Regions from separate parts of the Homo sapiens genome. Here regions 2 and 3 are each linked to region 1. The links are contacts of gene promoters, found by promoter capture Hi-C in blood cells and fetal thymus (Javierre and others, 2016). All regions are on one chromosome and are shown on one strand. Each heading gives the region's core, a stretch centred on a gene start or on the middle of the fragment in contact. The rest is flanking DNA. Distances are from core to core; before and after follow the strand shown. Region 1 holds the start of PSMD2 (proteasome 26S subunit ubiquitin receptor, non-ATPase 2). Region 2 overlaps ABCF3 (ATP binding cassette subfamily F member 3). Region 3 overlaps DVL3 (dishevelled segment polarity protein 3).

Region 1 (4,075 bases), core at 1,576-4,075:
ACTTCGGGAGGCTGAGGTGGGTGGATCACTATGTCAGGAGTTCAAGACCAGCAGGAGAATCGCTTGAACCCGGGAGGCGGAGGTTGCAGTGAGCCGAGATCGTGCCACTACACTCCAGGCTGGGCGACAGTGGGAGACTCCATCTCAAAAAAAAAAAAAAAAAAAAAAAAAAAAAAAAAAAAAGCAGTTTTAGTGGGTCTATCATGATTTACAAATGGAGAAACCTCATGATTTTCCAGTGCCTAGTTCTGGCCTCCAAAGACAGCTCCCAGTGGGTTGTTATTATACACAAAGATGGCCTGAAGATGAATGCAAAGCCATTCATTCATTCATTCATTCCGCATGCATGCATTCTGCAAATATTTATCAAGGCTCACTACAAGCCAGGCGCTAGGCTGGAGGCTAGGAGCATAAAGATGAATAAGACACAGTTCCAGGCCGGGCGCAGTGGCTCATGCCTGTAATTCCAGCACTTTGGGAGGCCAAGGCAGGCAGATAACTTGAGGTCAGGAGTTCAAGACCAGCCTGGCCAACATGGTGAATCCCCGTCTCGACTAAAAATACAAACATTAGCGGGGTGTGGTGGTGCATGCCTGTAGTCCCAGTTACTTGGGAGGCTGAAGCAGGAAAATCACCTGAACCCGGGAGGCAGAGGTTGCAGCAAGCTGAGATCATGCCACTGCACTCCAGCCTGGACGACAGAGCGAGACTCCGTCTGGAAAAAAAAAAAAAAAAGAAGAAGGAAGTCATGGATAAAGAGGAGTTTTAGAAAAAAATCCCTCTACAGATGACTGAAGAAAGCATGAAAATGTATGGACACCGTGAAGCCAGAGATAGAATAGGCAGAACAGTTATGGACTGTTGAATTTTTGTCTGCAGACCAGCGCTGGGGGAGTCATTGGCAATGGCAATGGAAGGTCATGCCTAGAATCCAAGCACTGAGTGGAAAAGAGCAACAGGTATTTAAAATGGATTCAGACCTTTACTTCCGTATCTACACAAACATTTACCCAACATTCACTCTGTGATATGTTGTACTAGGTGTCTTTTTCTTCAATGTGTCAGAACCCATAAAATAAGATTGCTAGAAGACTCCTGAGTGTTCCCACTAGGTGAAAGGGAGAAGAGATACTTCCTTTTTTCTCACCTTACACGCACACACACACACACACAGCTGAAGAAGAAACTCTGGGGTTTGCCTAAAACAGTCAAGGGCTTTGAAGACTGAAAGACTGAGCTTTAAATTTTGATTCCGCCGGGCGCGGTGGCTCACGCTTGTAATCCCAGAACTTTGGGAGGCCGAGGCGGGCGGATCACCTGAGGTCGGGAGTTGGAGACCAGCCTGACCAACATGGAGAAACCCCGTCTCTACTAAAAATACAAAAATTAGCCGGGCGTGGTGGCACAAAAATTCAACAGTCCATAACTGTTCTGCCTATTCTATCTCTGGCTTCACGGTGTCCATACATTTTCATGCTTTCTTCAGTCATCTGTAGAGGGATTTTTTTCTAAAACTCCTCTTTATCCAGCTACTCGGGAGGCTGAGGCAGGAGAATCACTTGCACCCGGGAGGCGAAGGTTGTGGTGAGCCGAGATTGCGCCATTGCACTCCAGCCTGGGCAACAGGAGAGAAACACTATCTCAAAACAAATAAATAAAATAAAAAATAAATCCTCATTTTACTACTTGATATGATCTTCTCTGTAAAATGGACCTAACCCTACCAATCTCAAAAGATTGTAAGAAGTGCATGGAATCACTCGAAAGCAGTCCTGACATAAGCGCGTCAGTCACACGCCTCTAAGGCTTCACAGGGAAAGACGAGAAGATAGAGGACGAAGACCTTGTCTTGTTCTGCTTTTAGCTCCAGAACTTGGCGGGGAGCACAGGGCTTTATTGATCGATGTCAACTCCACCTGGCTCCCCAAAGTATTTAAAATGGTAGCCACGGGAATAGCAGAGTACTCTCTTTCAACTGGGGAGGAATATCAAATGAGGTTAATAGGCCGGGCGCGGTGGTTCACACCTGTAATTACAGCTCTTTGGGAGGCTGAGGCGGGCAGATCACTTGAGGTCAGGAGTTCGAGACCAGCCTGGCCAACATAGTGAAACCCCCGTCTCTACTAAAAAATACAAAAATTAGCTGGGCGTGGTGGCGGGCGCCTGTAATCCCAGCTACTCGGGAGGTTGAGGCACGAGAATCACTTGAACCTGGTAGGCGGAGTTTGCAGTGAGCCGAGATCGCGCCACTGCACTCCAGCCTGGGCGAGAGAGCGAGCCTCCTTCTCAAAAGCAACAACAACAACAAAACCAAATGAGGTTAATATTCCACAGTGGTGTGGGGCTAGACACAGTTACACAGACTTTATACAGGCGGCAATCAAGCGTCCTGGACGTCAAGAAATCTAGTTTGTCTGTCGCGCCACGCAGTCAACTGGAGTGTCACTGTGGGTTCTATTTACACCGTTATGAGAAAAACCTGTGGCGGAGTAAAACTCGGTAACTCCGCTCGCAGACCGCCCATCTACAGCAGTGAGCGAACCCAAACCCCACACGGCCAAGTCCCGCGGGTTTCAGGAAACTCCGAAGAGGTCGGGGGCCAGGGGCGACTATGGCGCGGGGGAGGCTGGGAATTGTAGTCTCCACCTGCCTCCGAGGGCGGGGTCCGAGGGCGGGGCTCTCAGGCCGAGGGGGTGGGTGGGTCGCCGAGCGCCCCGGCTCGCCCCGGCGTTTCCGGTCGCAGGCGGGCTCTGGAGGAGGAGGGGCGCCGCGACCGACGCGCGCGAGTTGGTCTGGGAAAAAGGGCGGTGCGAGCGGGTGCGCGCGCAGCGGGCCGGCAGTGGCGGCGGAGATGGAGGAGGGAGGCCGGGACAAGGCGCCGGTGCAGCCCCAGCAGTCTCCAGCGGCGGCCCCCGGCGGCACGGACGAGAAGCCGAGCGGCAAGGAGCGGCGGGATGCCGGGGACAAGGACAAAGAACAGGAGCTGGTGAGGCGCGACCCCGAGAGTCGGCGAAGGAGGCTGCGGGGCTGAGTCACGGCGGCTCCGCAGGCCTCAGGCCCGACACCCAACTACCCCACCGCGCCAGGGAGAGGGCGGTTGGGGCGACCCTCGGGACTCCCGGCACCTTGCCTCTCTGCTCCTCATTCTCCGTTCCGCGCTGTCACCTCCGCCGTCCCCACCAACCCTCACCACCGCCGCGTGAAGTGGACTCGGGCAGGTCATTGTCACCTCCGTTTCCTAGAGTGGCATTCAAGTAGAGCCTGATTCAGAACCCAGGCTGATTTCTCACCAGGGCTTCCCATTCCCACTCGGTTTCCTTGTCCACCTGGCCCCTCCTAAGGAGGCAGGCTTATTCTTCACCTGCCCCGGGTAAGTGGGAGGAGGACGTCTTTGGGATTCCTTCTCTTCATGAGCTGCTTCTCCCAACCCTCCAGTCTGAAGAGGATAAACAGCTTCAAGATGAACTGGAGATGCTCGTGGAACGACTAGGGGTGAGTCACGATGTTAACATGATTCGGTGCATGTTTGGATCTTTCCCACTTGTTTTATTCTTTTTTGAGGCAACTGCTATGTACGGTGGACTGTATTTTAGGGTCAGTGTTATGATGATGTTGGGAGGCAGGAGAGTTACAAAGGGTATTTGTACAGTTTTGCAGCTTTCTCTTGTGGGAGAAGCAGAGTTCTTACCTCTTAACTTGGGTCATTTGTTTTTGTGCCAGGCAGGGTGCAGGGAGTTGAGGAATCACAGATGAATGAATAAGACACAGCATTTCCTTGGAGGAGTTGTTAAGTTAAATATCTCTGTATTATGACTTGAAGGGGTGTGACTCCTTTTTGTCTGAGCCCTGTCGTCTCTTGATCAGGAGAAGGATACATCCCTGTATCGACCAGCGCTGGAGGAATTGCGAAGGCAGATTCGTTCTTCTACAACTTCCATGACTTCAGTGCCCAAGCCTCTCAAATTTCTGCGTCCACACTATGGCAAACTGAAGGAAATCTATGAGAACATGGCCCCTGGGGAGAATAAGGTAAAACTGTTTCAAACCTGGTGGAGGCCTAGTTTAGGAATTCCTT
Region 2 (4,049 bases), core at 390-2,889, 110 kb before region 1:
AGGTCTGTGGAACAGGAGTGAGGGCCCGGGCTAAGGATTTTGCAGGACTTACACTAGCCCTGTCCTCTGGCCGCACAGCGCTGCTCTTCAGGGAGGAAGAGCCTAGTGTATAGTGTTTTAAAAATACTTAAAAATACTTAAAGCAGTGCTTTACCTTATTGGTCTCGGTTCTGAGTTTTCTAAACCTGGAGACATTGAGGAGAGAGCATGGGCTTCAGGGTCAGACTTCGGATCTTGACTATGCCATTTCCTAGCTTGGTTACCAAGCAGCTTCCTAACTCTTAAGATGGCGCTGACATCTACCTCACTTGGTTCTTGGGAAAAGTAAGTCCCCAGCACTTAGCAAATACTCAAGTATTGCTCACCTTAGTATATGCATTTTTCTGTAGAGTTAGAGTTCCTTTTTTTTTTTTTTCGGAGACAGAGTCCTGCCCTGTTGCCCCGGCTGGAGTGCAATGGCACAATCTTGGCTCACCGCAGCTTTCGCCTCCCGGGTTCAAACAGTTCTCCCTCAGCCCCACAAGTAGCTGAGATTACAGGCACCCGCCACCATGCCCAGCTAATTTTTTGCATTTTTAGTAGAGATGGGGTTTTACCATATTGGCCAGGCTGGTCTCAAACTCCTGACCTCAAATGATCTGCCTGCCTCAGCCTCCCAAAGTGCTGGGAATACAGGCCTGAGCCACCGTGCCCGGCTAGAGTCCTTAAAAATATTTTTTTGGTTGTTGAAGGAGTCATCGGGACTGGGGACTGCCTGGGACCCCTTCTAATTTCCTTCTCCTCTGTGTTACACACAGCGGTGCTCTTTTTATTGATACATAATTGTACATATTTATGGGGTACAGAGTGATACTTCCATGCATGTATACAATGTGTAATGATCAAATCAGGGTAATTAGCATATTCATCATAAACATTTATCACTTTATGTTGGGAACATTCAGAATCTTCTAGCTTTTTGAAAATGTACAGTCTATCATTGTGAACTGTAGCGTCCCTGCAGTGCTGTAGAACCCTAGAACTTATTCCTCCATTCCTCCTATCTAACTGCAATTTTGTTTCAGTTAACCAACCTCTCCCGAACCCCTCTCTCAATTCCCCTCCTCCCCCCTTATCCTTCCCAGCCTCTAGTAACCACAACTCTGCTCTCTACTTCTATGTGCTCAACACTTTTTAGTGCCCACATATGAATGAGAACATACCGTATTTATTTTTCTGGCACACACTGTATGACATTTTCATGTTTCTTAAGGTTGGAGAGAATGGGGCTGGGAAGTCTACCATGCTGAAGCTGCTTTTGGGGGACCTGGCACCTGTTCGGGGCATCAGACACGCTCACAGGTCAGGCCCACCCGCACCCCTGCCCCCATGAGCACATTTGCAGGCACCCATGCTGCCTGCGCTCCTTCGTGGCCATTGCCTTTGTCTGTTTTTCCACCTCGGCTTCTGCCTGCAGGAATCTGAAGATTGGCTATTTCAGCCAGCACCATGTGGAGCAGCTGGACCTAAACGTCAGTGCTGTGGAACTGCTGGCACGCAAGTTTCCTGGTGAGTTAGGGATTTGAGTCGGGGGAAGAGTTTGAGTAGGGAAGAGGGCTGAGGCTGACCCCGGCAGCTAGGCCTGCCTTGGGGTGCGTGCAGAGCAGCCCCGCCAAGCCTAGATGGAAGGACATGGGGACTTGGAGGTGTGGCTGGAGGGCACAGGGAGGGTGTTGGGCCAAGAAGCCACCTGATCTGGGGAGTCCTTTTCCAGGGCGGCCTGAGGAGGAGTACCGTCACCAGCTGGGTCGGTATGGCATCTCCGGAGAACTGGCCATGCGTCCTCTTGCCAGCCTGTCTGGGGGCCAGAAGAGCCGAGTGGCCTTTGCTCAGATGACTATGCCCTGGTGAGGCCTCATTTTCCAGAGCTCTTCCCCTCCCATTTCCCCTTCTTGCCCAGTAGAAAACTGTATCAGAAGGCTTTATTTTCTCTCACCGCACCCCTTCACTGCCCACCTTCCTGGTTCTGCCTTCCAGCCCCAACTTCTACATTCTGGATGAACCCACAAACCACCTGGACATGGAGACCATTGAGGCTCTGGGCCGTGCCCTCAACAATTTCAGGGTGAGTGTGCCTTCACCCTGACCACTCCTCCCAGGCCTCGGTGCCTCTTGTGTCCCCCTGAGCACCTCCTGCCCTCCTGTCTTTCAGGGTGGTGTGATTCTGGTGTCCCACGATGAGCGCTTTATCAGGCTGGTGTGCCGGGAGTTGTGGGTATGCGAAGGAGGCGGCGTCACCCGTGTGGAAGGAGGATTTGACCAGTACCGCGCCCTCCTCCAGGAACAGTTCCGCCGCGAAGGCTTCCTCTAGGGCCACCAGGCTGAGGACTCGCCCAGGACATGGACTGGTCTCTCAGACCCCTGGGCCACCATGTAGGCCACCACTCCAGGCCGTGGACTTCCCCCAACTTGGGGACAGCCTTATTCCCAAATGTCTCTATCCTTTTGACTGGAGCATCTTCTGCACAACCTTGGGAGCCCATCCAAGGGTTGGTGAGGACTGGTCTCCCGGGGGTGGGGGTCTGGGGGGTACCCTCTGGGGTTATAGATTCCCCCACTGCCCCAGCTCTGACTGGACCCCAAGTGGCTGCTATGTAAATTAAATCTCTCCCCGCGTCTCCTTTGCCTCATGTCTGCTGCTCCCTGGGCAGTGGTTGCCTCCTACTGAGGGCTGTGGACTCTCGGATTGGCGTTTTCCTATGGCACTTGTATCCCTCACGTGTAGGAAGCAATAGCAGCACCAGCCTTGCCTCTAGAAGAGACATTGTCAAGCTACTGGGGCATGGAGGTCATCTGCCTGCCTGACCTTGGGGTGGGCTGAGCCAGTGGAATGAAGGGCAGTGTATTGGCATCATTGCGGTGCTGTTAGCCCTAGCCTGGGCTCAGCCTCAGCTGAAGGGGTCTTGGGTTCTGTCGTCACAGCCCCCACTGATGGGCAGTTGAACTGATTGTGTAACCTGGCCTCACACGTGGCCAGCTGCTTTCTCCAGTCATATCTGGCTCCGGCTTGCCCTGCTTCTCTGCTCTCTAGACTCAGCACTGAAGAGAAACCATCTTTGTCCTCACTTTGCTTGGGTGATTGCATGTTCTTTATATTTCCTCTAACCATATAGGAGGGGCCTGGGAAATAGGGAATTTAGGACAGGGTCTAACAGGAAGGCATAGAACACTTTCTTTTCAAATGAAGCAATCTTTAAGAGGGGAGAGATGTTGAACACAGGTAGTATCATTTATAAATATTATTTCTTGAGGAGTTAGCTGTTATATGTCATTGTTATGCAGAGGACGTTAAAATAGAGACATTTGAGCTGAGCACAGTGGTACGCACCTGTAGTCCCAGCTGTTGGGGAGGCCAAGGTGGGAGGATTGCTTGAGCCCAGGGGTTTGCGGCCAGCCTGGGAAACTTAGCAAGACCACTTCTCTCAAAAGAAAAAAATAAAACAGACATATTGCGTTGCTCTCAGTGACAACAAAGTCAGCAGAAAGAACTTGCCGCCTTCATGCAGATTGTAGTCAAAAAGCTCGACCAGGCCAGGAGCAGTGGCTCACGCCTGTAATCCCAGCACTTTAGGAGGCCAAGGTGGGCAGGTCACCTGAGGTCAGGAGTTCAAGACCAGCCAGGCCAACATAGGGAGGCCCCGTCTCTACTAAAAATACAAAAATTAGCCAGGTGTGGTGGCACATGCCTGTAGTCCCAGCTACTCAAGAGGCTGAGGCAGGAGAATAGCTTGAACCTGGGAGGCGGAAGTTGCAGTAAGCTGAGATCGTGCCATTGCACTCAGCCTGGGCGACAGAGCGAGACTTCTTCTCAAGAAAAAAAAAAAAAAAGCTTGACCAAAGAATCTTAACTCTGAGCTGCTGAGGGTAGCATGGTATGGGTCGCCGGGGAGAGAGCCCTGTTTCGGGGGTTAAAGAAGATAAAGACAGCAAGGCTCTGTGGACTGGTGAAGCTGGCAGAAGGACGACTAATGTGCCTGCCTCCTTGGCATCCTTCCTCCCATGTCTGTGGC
Region 3 (3,825 bases), core at 741-3,240, 130 kb before region 1:
GGCCAGCAGAGAAAGTGCAAAAGCTTGGCCAGGGCCTTCAAGGGATTGGGAGGTACAGCTTTGGCTGAGAACCTAGAATGATGACTCAGGGTTGTCCTGAGAAGGGTCTCCCCGGGGCTGGCTCTGGTGGTGGCAAAGGGGGTCTGCAGAAGGGGGGAGCTCTCTGGGCTGTGCCTCCTCTCATTCTAGCCAGAAACTACCACGGTCTCTCTCATCCAGAGCCCACCTGACCTAGGCTAGGGACCTCTCTCCGGAAAGACCTAGCTCCATCCGGCCCTCCCCTTCACAGACATGGCCAACCTGTCTCTCCACGATCACGATGGCTCCAGTGGCGCCTCTGACCAGGACACACTGGCCCCTTTGCCGCACCCGGGGGCCGCCCCTTGGCCCATGGCTTTCCCGTACCAGTACCCGCCACCCCCGCACCCATACAACCCGCACCCGGGCTTCCCGGAGCTGGGCTACAGCTACGGCGGGGGCAGCGCCAGCAGTCAGCACAGCGAAGGTAAGGTAGAGGGGCCGTGGAGGAAGGCTATAGGTGGGCCCCAGGCTTCCCCCGCCCGCTCAGCCTGCCCCACCCCGGCCCTGTTTGCCTCCTACAGGCAGTCGGAGCAGTGGCTCCAACCGTAGCGGCAGCGATCGGAGGAAGGAGAAGGACCCGAAGGCCGGGGACTCCAAGTCCGGGGGCAGCGGCAGCGAATCGGACCACACCACACGCAGCAGCCTGCGGGGGCCGCGGGAGCGGGCGCCCAGCGAGCGCTCAGGGCCGGCGGCCAGCGAGCACAGCCACCGCAGCCACCATTCCCTGGCCAGCAGCCTTCGCAGCCACCACACACACCCGAGCTACGGTCCTCCCGGAGTGCCCCCTCTCTACGGCCCCCCCATGCTGATGATGCCCCCGCCGCCCGCGGCCATGGGGCCCCCAGGAGCCCCTCCGGGCCGCGACCTGGCCTCAGTGCCCCCGGAACTGACCGCCAGCAGACAGTCCTTCCGCATGGCCATGGGAAACCCCAGTGAGTTCTTTGTGGATGTGATGTGAGCAGGGCCCCTCCCCCAGCTCCATTCCGCTCCCACCCCAGCCGGCTGCGTTCCTCTCTCCATCCGTCCGTCTTTTTTACTTTGTCTGGTACCTGAAAGGGAAATAAAAGGAACTAAATCCAGGTGCGCTAACTGCTCGCAGGGTGCTGCGAGGGTGGGGTGCACCTACCGATTGGCTCTGCAGCCCCCTAACCTGCCTCTGGCCCCAGTTCGTTTCCTCTGCCCACTAATCCCTGCGCAGGACTTCCCAGGACCCCTTTTGTCTCTGGGACCAGACTTGTTGGTGCTACCCCTTACTCCCCTCTGCAACCCCCATTTTGGGAGTTGACCCCAGCAATGACCTTGGTGGCACGCTCACTCCCTCATTCTCTCGTTTCCCCTTTAGCTCCCTTTCACCATTTATTCAGCTACATCATCCCTCTATTAACCCCACCCCATCAGGCACGTGTGCAAACCTCTTGACTTTACCCCACATTACTGAAACCAAAATATATTTGCTTCATCTGCCCCTACTAACCATCCCCCTGCCTGCTGCCTCAGTCCTGCAACCTAAAGCTGTAGTCGCCTCCAATAGCCATCCATGCCATCCCTGCCTGTGCCTAGATCAGAGGCCCAGAGGGCCCCCTCAGTTGCCTGAGCAGCTGGTGGCTTCCAGGGAGCATCTCTGCTCTACCCCTGCCCCATGCCTGCCCTGCGTGCTGGTTCCTTCAGACCCCTAACCCTACTAACCAGCAGGCTCATCTCACCTCCAGGCCTGAAACATTTCTTTTCTTTCTTTTTTCCTCCCCCAATTTACCCTGGGCCTGGAGCAGCCAAGAATTTCGGGCTGTTTGACTTTCTGTGAGCCCCCAGCGAGGGGAGGCCCAGCCTCCGAGGAGACCAGGAACCCTGCTTCAGCAGCCCCTCAGGGCTTCCCAAGGATGTCCAGCCCCCACACCCACACGTTAACATAATGAGTCACTAGGCTTCTGGGGAGGGCCCAACTTCACCCATGCATGAGAGACTCTCCTCCTTTCCAGAGAGAATCGGATCGCACCACGTGTGGCAGCCTGCGGCGGGGGGAGGGGGGCCTCTTTAGCTCTCTTTATCTTTCTCTCTCACTCATGTATGCATACATGCACAGAGATGCATACACAGGTGCCTATGCAAGTTCATTTAAGCCTCAGGGCTGGTCCCTGCCCAAAGGGCTGGACCCTCCTAATCCTCTCCTAGGTTGTGGGGCTGGTCCCCTGACACCCTTCTCCCCTTCCTGGTAGACCTTAAACCTCGCACACATGTCCCCAGCATTTTCTCACCTGGATAAAGCCCATAAGCTGGGTCTCAGGCTGGGCTCAGCAAAGGACTCGCCTTGCAACCGACAGGCCATTCCCACCCCCACACACAACCTCCCCTGTTTTCACATTCACCATGGCATCCCAGAGCAAGGACACAGGAGCCCACAGGCCAGTTGAGGTTGGGCAAGGAGACTTCCAGGACTTCCAGACAGAGTACCAGGTTTTATTTTTCACCTTATTCTCTACTTTAAACAAATCATAACTTTCTCTTTAAGCCTCTGCTATAAATTCTCCTGGCTCTCCTGGGCTTCCATATTTTGGGGGCTGGGGTGTCAAAAGTGAGATGAAGTTCTTAGCTCCAGGTTTTGGGGTAAACCAAGGTAGGAACATTTTGGCATTTATTTCAATTAACAATACTTCCTTGGACGGGTGCGGTGGCTCACGTCTGTAATCCCAGCACTTTGGGAGGCTGAGACAGGTGGATCACTTGAGGTCGGGAGTTCGAGACCAGCCTGGCCAACATAGCAAAACCCTGTCTCTACTAAAAATACAAAAATTAGATGGGTGTTTTGGCACCTGCCTGTAATCTCAGCTACTCAGGAGGCTGAGGCACAAGAATCGCTTGAATCCAGGAAGCAAGCGGAGGTTGCAGTGAGTTGAGATCGCACTCCAGCCTGGGTGACAGAGTGAGATTCTGTCTCAAAAGCAAACTAACAAAGAAAAACAATACTTCCTGGGGTTTTGGTGTGCAGAGGGCTTTGTTGGAAGTGTGACTCAATCTTGCCTGCCTTCTGGGAGCTCTAGAATTGTTCCCAACCCAGTCCATGGCTTCTAGCCACCACTACAGGGCTGTTTCATGTACTTCTCTCTCTGACTCTGTCTTGTCCGACTCTCTTGAGAATTTCTCAACGATTGCTCATGCCTGTCAGTATCAGTGCTTCCATCGTTCCATCTTTGATTCACTTCTCTTTCCTTTCTATTTACTCCCAAAATGGAGTCATTCATCCTGATGTCCTCAATTGCTGCTGATATGCTGGTGATTCCCAAATACATAGCTCCAACCCCCAACTTCCCCCAGACTTTAGATCTGTATTGGTATTACCTACTGGACATCTCTATGGACAGTTCCGTATAGACTCAACTCATCTGCCCAACCAAGTATGTTCCTCCTGAATTCCTCTCCTGGTTACTTCATCACAATCTACATAGGCTCACCAGCTAGAAACATTTATGAGCTTACATTCCTTCTTCCCATATCTTATCAGCATATCATATCCATTTCACTCCAACACTCTGTCTTGAATTTGGCCCTCCCTCTCCCCTCTCTACTTTAATTCATTGGAGCATGGGATTTGGAGTTAGGTGGTTTTGGGTTTGAATTCCAGCTCTACTATTTTTGGTTGTGTGATAGAGTTATTTAACCTCTCTGAGCCTCAGTTCCCTCGTATGTAAAATGATGATAATAATACCTACCTCACAGGGTTGTTGTGAGGATTTAAATTAGATATTGTAC

What was found. Contacts are between HindIII fragments. The CHiCAGO score rates a contact against its expected background, and 5 or more counts as called.
Region 2: a contact is called between a fragment that was not itself captured here and the fragment with the promoter of PSMD2 in region 1, in 2 of 17 cell types (naive CD4 T cells and total CD4 T cells). The highest score is 5.9, in naive CD4 T cells.
Region 3: a fragment that was not itself captured here is called in contact with the fragment with the promoter of PSMD2 in region 1 in 14 of 17 cell types (naive CD4 T cells, non-activated CD4 T cells, naive CD8 T cells and 11 more); the score reaches 12.3 in naive CD4 T cells.

What each region holds. Positions count from the first base shown.
Region 1 is chr3:184,296,416-184,300,490 of GRCh38, forward strand. It overlaps PSMD2 (proteasome 26S subunit ubiquitin receptor, non-ATPase 2), which reads left to right and starts at 2,826. Exons shown (of 21, transcript NM_002808.5): 1 at 2,826-2,986; 2 at 3,436-3,492; 3 at 3,865-4,029. The coding sequence starts at 2,852. RefSeq lists a silencer at 2,494-2,833. The HindIII fragment of the contact is 6,965 bases long and covers 1-4,075 here.
Region 2 is chr3:184,191,349-184,195,397 of GRCh38, forward strand. It overlaps ABCF3 (ATP binding cassette subfamily F member 3), which reads left to right. Exons shown (of 21, transcript NM_018358.3): 17 at 1,253-1,341; 18 at 1,457-1,548; 19 at 1,754-1,886; 20 at 2,017-2,104; 21 at 2,192-2,657. The coding sequence ends at 2,350. Among named protein-coding and RNA genes, the nearest start is that of ABCF3, 7.2 kb to the left of the region's middle. RefSeq lists an enhancer at 1-129. The HindIII fragment of the contact is 4,453 bases long and covers 1-3,866 here.
Region 3 is chr3:184,169,717-184,173,541 of GRCh38, forward strand. It overlaps DVL3 (dishevelled segment polarity protein 3), which reads left to right. Exons shown (of 15, transcript NM_004423.4): 14 at 290-505; 15 at 603-3,825. The coding sequence ends at 1,039. Among named protein-coding and RNA genes, the nearest start is that of AP2M1, 3.2 kb to the right of the region's middle. RefSeq lists an enhancer at 1,825-2,119. The HindIII fragment of the contact is 3,938 bases long and covers 22-3,825 here.